Regions from separate parts of the Homo sapiens genome. Here region 1 is linked to region 2. The links are contacts of gene promoters, found by promoter capture Hi-C in human tissues and cell types (Jung and others, 2019). All regions are on one chromosome and are shown on one strand. The core of a region is centred on a gene start or on the middle of the fragment in contact, and the rest is flanking DNA. Distances in the headings are between cores, read along the strand shown.

What was found. The method cuts DNA at HindIII sites, captures the fragments that hold promoters and counts their contacts. A contact is called where the count stands out against the background at its distance.
Region 1: a contact is called between a fragment that was not itself captured here and the fragment with the promoter of PRSS22 in region 2, in 2 of the 25 tissues and cell types used here (dorsolateral prefrontal cortex and spleen).

The regions. Positions count from the first base shown.
Region 1 is chr16:2,355,405-2,358,104 of GRCh38, forward strand. It overlaps the pseudogene ABCA17P. Among named protein-coding and RNA genes, the nearest start is that of ABCA3, 16 kb to the left of the region's middle. The HindIII fragment of the contact is 5,660 bases long and covers 1-2,700 here.
Region 2 is chr16:2,856,889-2,859,588 of GRCh38, forward strand. It overlaps PRSS22 (serine protease 22), which reads right to left and starts at 1,282. Exons shown (of 6, transcript NM_022119.4): 1 at 1,135-1,282. The coding sequence starts at 1,216. RefSeq lists enhancers at 667-1,267, 1,268-1,868, 1,869-2,468. The HindIII fragment of the contact is 21,792 bases long and covers 1-2,700 here.

The sequences.
Region 1 (2,700 bases), core at 52-2,551, 500 kb before region 2:
TGAGCATCTTTTCATATGCTTATTTGCCATGTGTATATTTCTTTTTTTTTTTGTTTGAGACGGAATCTCTGTCGCCCAGGCTGGAGTGCAGTGGCCCAATCTCAGCTCACTGCAAGCTCCGCCTCCCGGGTCCACGCCATTCTTCTGCCTCAGCCACCCAAGTAGCTGGGACTACAGGTGCCCGCCACCACGCCTGGCTAATTTTTTGTATTTTTAGTAGAGACAGGGTTTCACCGTGTTAGCCAGGATGGTCTCGATCTCCTGACCTCATGATCCGCCCACCTCGGCCTCCCAAAGTGCTGGGATTACAGGCTTGCCATGTGTATATTTCTTTAGTGAAGTAACTGTTTAGGTTTTTTGCCCATTTTTAAATCAGGTTGTTTGTTTTCTTATTGTTAACAGTTCTTTGTATATTTCAGATAATAGTACTTTATCAGATATGTCTTTTACAAATATTTTCTCTCAGTCTATGGCTTGTCTTCTCATTTTCTTGATTGATAGAATATTTTGCAGTTTAGGAGAGAGTTTTTCATTTAAAAAAAGTGCTTTTTTGGTTTTGGTGTTTTTATTTTATTATTAATACTTTTAGTGTAGTGTGATCTAGAAATGTGGTCAGTATCATTCAACCTCTTACAATTTGAAATTTTCTTTATGGCCTATACATACTCTGTTTTCATGAATAGTGCATGGGTGTGCATAAGCTTGTTTTTTAAAAAAAATTTTAGAGACAGGGTCTTGCTCTGTCACCCAGACTGGAGTACATTGGCATGATCATAGCTCACTGCAGCCTTGAACTCCTGGGCTTAAGTGGTCCTTCTGCCTCAGCTTCTCGAGTAGCTGGGACTGCAGGTGCGTACCTCCATACTTGGCTAATTAAAAAAAATTTGAGTGATGAACATCTCACTATGTTTCCCAGGCAGGTCTTGAACTCCTGGCCTCATGTGATCCTCTTGTCTTAACCTGTGAGTCACTGGGATTATAGGCATGAGCCACTGTATCTGGCTCTATTTTTTAAATCATATGGGAAACAGAGGTGTTACATACCAAAAGTACAATAATACTAGTTGTTTTTTTTGTTTGTTTGTTTTTGAGATGGACTTTTGCTCTTGGTTGCCCAGGTTGGAGTGCAGTGGCGCAATCTTGGCTTACTACAACCTCTGCCTCCCAGGTTCGAGTGATTCTGCAGCCTCAGCCTCCCGAGTAGCTGGGATTACAGGCGTGTGCCACCATGCCTGGCTAAATTTTGTATTTTTAGTAGAGACGGGGTTTCACCATGTTGGCCAGGCTGGTCTTGAACTCCTGACTTCAGGTGATCCACCTGCCTTGGCCTCCCAAAGTGCTGGGATTACAGGCGTGAGTCACCGCACCTGGCCAATGCTAGTTTTTATAGTTACCTAAAAAGTTACCTTTACTGATAATTATTTATTCATATGGCTTCAAATTACATCTAGCATTTTTTTGTTTCAGCCTGAGGGACTTCCTTTGGCATGCTTCTTCGGGCAGGTCTACTAGAGACAAATTTCTTTAGCTCTTATTTACCTAAAAAATGTCTTAATTTCTCCTTCATTTTTGAAAGATAGTTTCGCTGGGTATAGATTCTTGACAGTTTTTTTTTTTTAAGCGTTTTATATATATCATCCCACTGCTTTTTTGCCTCCCTGTTTTCTGATGAGAAATTAGCTGTTAATCTTACTGAAGATCCCTTGTACAAGTTTCTTCTGTCCTACTGCTTTCAAGATTCTCTCCTTGGGCTGGGAATGGTGGCTCACACCTGTAATCCCAACACTTTGGGCAACAGAGGTGGGAGGATCGCTTGAGGCCAGGAGTTAAAGACCAGCCTGGGCAACCAAGCAGACCCAATCTCTACAAAAAATAAAAAAGTTAGCTGGGCGTAGTGGCATATGCCTACATGCCTATAATCCCAGCTACTTGGGAGGGTGAGGAAGGAGGCTCACTAGAGCCTGGCTGGTCAAGGCTGCAATGAACGATGATCATGCCACAGAGCCAGACCCTGTCTCAAAAAAAAAAAAAATTCTCTCCTTATCGTTAGCATTCGACGGTTTCATTATAATAACTCTCTTTGTGGGTTTTTTAAGTTTCTTGTACTTGGAGTTTGTTGAGCTTCTTGGATCTGTAGATTCATGTATTGATCACATTTGAGAAGTTGTTATTTCATTATTTCTTCAAACATGTTTTTATCTCTTTCTTCTCCTGGAACTTTCACAATGTGTATTTGGTACACTTGATGGTGTCCCATAGGTCCCTTAGGGTCTGTTCATTTTTCTTCATTTTTTTTTTCCTGCTCCTTAGACTTGGTAATTTTAACTGCCCTATCTTCAGGTTTGCCGATTCTGTCTTCTGCTTGCTCAAATCTTTGAATTCTTCTAGTGAATTATTTTGTTTCAGCTTTTATGCTTTTCAGCTCCAGAATTTCTATTTGGTTTCTTTAAAATTTTTCTGTTTATTGAAATTTTCTGCTTGTACACACTTCATTCTTCAGATTTCCTTTAGTTCTTTGTCCATCATCTTCAGCTCTGAGAATATTTAAGACAGTCCATTTAGAAGTTTTGCCTAGTAAGTCCTATGTCTGGGCTTCCTCAGGAATGGTTTGTGTCAGCTTCCTTTTTTGCTGTGAATGGGTCATACTTTCCTATGTCTTTGTATGGTTTGTAATTTTTTACTGAGAGCTATACATTTTGA
Region 2 (2,700 bases), core at 32-2,531:
CCCAGGACACAGTGGTGAGGGGCCCTCAACGCCCAGTGAGGAAGGCCCCCAACACCCAGTAAGAAGGGATCCCAGTGCCCAGTGAGGTGGAGGTCCCAGCACCCAGTGAGGAGGGTCCCTCAGCGCCCAGTGAGGAGGGGTCCCAGCACCCCCTGAGGAGGGTCCCTCAGCGCCCAGTGAGGAGGGGTCCCAGTACCCAGTGAGGAGGGTCCCTCAGCGCCCAGCGAGAAGCCCCCAGCACCCAGTGAGAAGGGGTCCAGTGCCCAGTGGGAAGGGGTCCCAGCACCCAGTGAGGAGGGGTCCCCAGCGCCCAGTGAGGAGGGCTCCCCAGCGCCTAGTGAGGAGGGTTCCCCAGCGCCCAGTGAGGAGGGGTCCCCAGCGCCCAGTGAGGAGGGCTCCCCAGCGCCCAGTGAGGAGGGGTCCCCAGCGCCCAGTGACGAGGGGGTCCCAGCGCTCAGTGAGGAGGGGGTCCCAGCGCCCAGTGAGGAGGGGTCCCAGCGCCCAGTGAGCAGGCGTCCCAGCGCCCAGTGAGGAGGGGGTCCCCTTGAGTACCTGGTGGTGAGGAACCTCTAGCCCTCCAGTGCCCAGGGAGACTCTCAAGTCTCTCAACCCCAGGGCCCCTACCGGCGGGGCATTTCCTGGGGCCTGGCCAGGCCCTGGCTGCACAGCTGTGACCCTGCCCTCCCGCAGCTTCCCGTCCAGCCTGCCTTCCGGGGACCAGGACCGGCTCCTCGAGGGAGGCACAGACCTGAGCCCCTCGGCTCTGGACGCTGCTGCCGCTGGTGTGCCCTCCCCTGACCTCCTGCGGCAGGAACAACACAAAACGGTGCTTCCCCAGAGGCAAGCAGCGGAGGACGAGGAGATGGGAGAACACGGAGGCGAGAGGGAGCAGGCGATGGCGACGCCGACGGTAACTGGAGACCGAGGCGCGCTGCGTACTTGCTGCGTTTTCTGTTTCATCCTCACAGCCGTAGAAGAAACCGAGGCACAGAGCAGTTAAGGAGCAAGAGATAAACAGAGCAGAAGCGGAAAGGAGATGAGAGAGGCAAGGCCAGGAGGGAGAGAGGGAGGGAGGGAAGGAGGGAAGGAGGGTGGAGGTGAGAGGGAGGAGGGAGGAGCAGCCTCCGGACGTACCTGTCGACGCCAGCAGCAGCAGGGAGGTGAAGGTGCCGAGACAGCCCCCACCCAGGGCTGGGGGCGCTCCAGAAACCACCATGGCTGGTGGGGCGGGGGAGCAGGCAGCAGGCTCGAGAGACCCAGGGCGATGCGGGTCAGGGTGTGTAGGTTCCCTGCAGGTCGCCCCAGGTTTTATCCTGGGAGGCGGAATGCCGTCAGACCAGTCCCCAGGTGGCTCCCGCGGCCACCCCGGCTGTGGGTCCTGGGCAGAGGGCGGGGCTGCGGGGAGGAAGCCAGCCGCTACAGGGCTCTGGGGGGGCTCTAGCTGAGACCCCAGGATGTGGCCTCTGGAAGGGCAGGGGAGGGGGCTTGGGCCCAGAGGTCCCTGACATTAATTGTCCAGGGGCAGAGAAAGGTGCCAGGGCACTGAAAGGAAGGGGTTCCGGGCTGGGGAGGGCCTGGGTTTGGAGAGGCTGAAGTCTGGGGTACTGGGTGTTGGGGGTGGTCCTAGGGCCTTAGGGATCAAGGGGGTGCCCAAAGCTCAGTAACGGCTCCCACCTGCAGGGCCCCAGGCCCCTGTGACTCAGCCCAGAGACCTGGCGCAACCCGGGCTTGGGAATCCCGTTAACCCACTTCCCGAAAGCTGTGAATCAGGTGAGTGGCGACCTTGGTGGCCTCCTGGTGGCCGCCCTCCTGTCGTTCCTGGAGGCGGGGCTCTGCCCTGCGGTTCAGACACCTGACAACTCACCTCACCTGGACTCCTGGGAAGGGGAGGAGCCCATGGGCACCAGGGCTCGGCCAAGCAGGGGGGTTGAGAGAAGAGGGGCCCCGGGAAGGGCTGGGACTCCCAGGATTCAAAGAGCTGCTGGGCTGGGCTGTGGGGGGCCGGGTCCTGGGCTGGGAGTGGATTCTCGGTGCTTCCCCCCAGCGGCTGCCACAGTGGCAACCCGGGGCTGAATCCTGTGAGACCTTCCCTGACTCAGTGCCCTGCAGCGCCCCACACTTGGGACACTCCCACCCAAGCAGGGCAGGCTTCCTCCTCTACAAAGAGGCAGGAGCCTGCGCCCCTTCACTCATTCGATCAACAAGCCTCCAGCAGGGCCCTTGCTACCGCCGGGGGTGAATTAAAAACAACCATAGTGTCTGGGTGGGGTGGCTTATTCCTGTAATCCCAGCACTTTGGGAGGCCAAGACGGACAGATCATGAGGTCAGGAGTTCAATACCAGTCTGGCCAACATAGTAAAACCCCGTCTCTACTAAAAATACAAAAAAAAAAAAATTAGCCAGGCATGGTGGCAGGCGCCCTTAGTCCCATCTACTTGGGAGGCTGAGGCAGGAGAATCGCTTGAACCTGGGAGGCGGAGGTTGCAGTGAGCTGAGATCACGCCACTGCACTCCAGCCTGGGCGACAGAGCGAGACTCTGTTTCAAAAAAAAAAAAAAAAAACCATAGTAGTGAATATGTATGTAATAAATATATTTATACAAATATAAATATAGTATTTATATAATAGAGCAAACATTTAGGAGTGCCATGCATTGCCTCCTAATCCTCAAATGTCTTTATTATTCCCACTCTGCAGA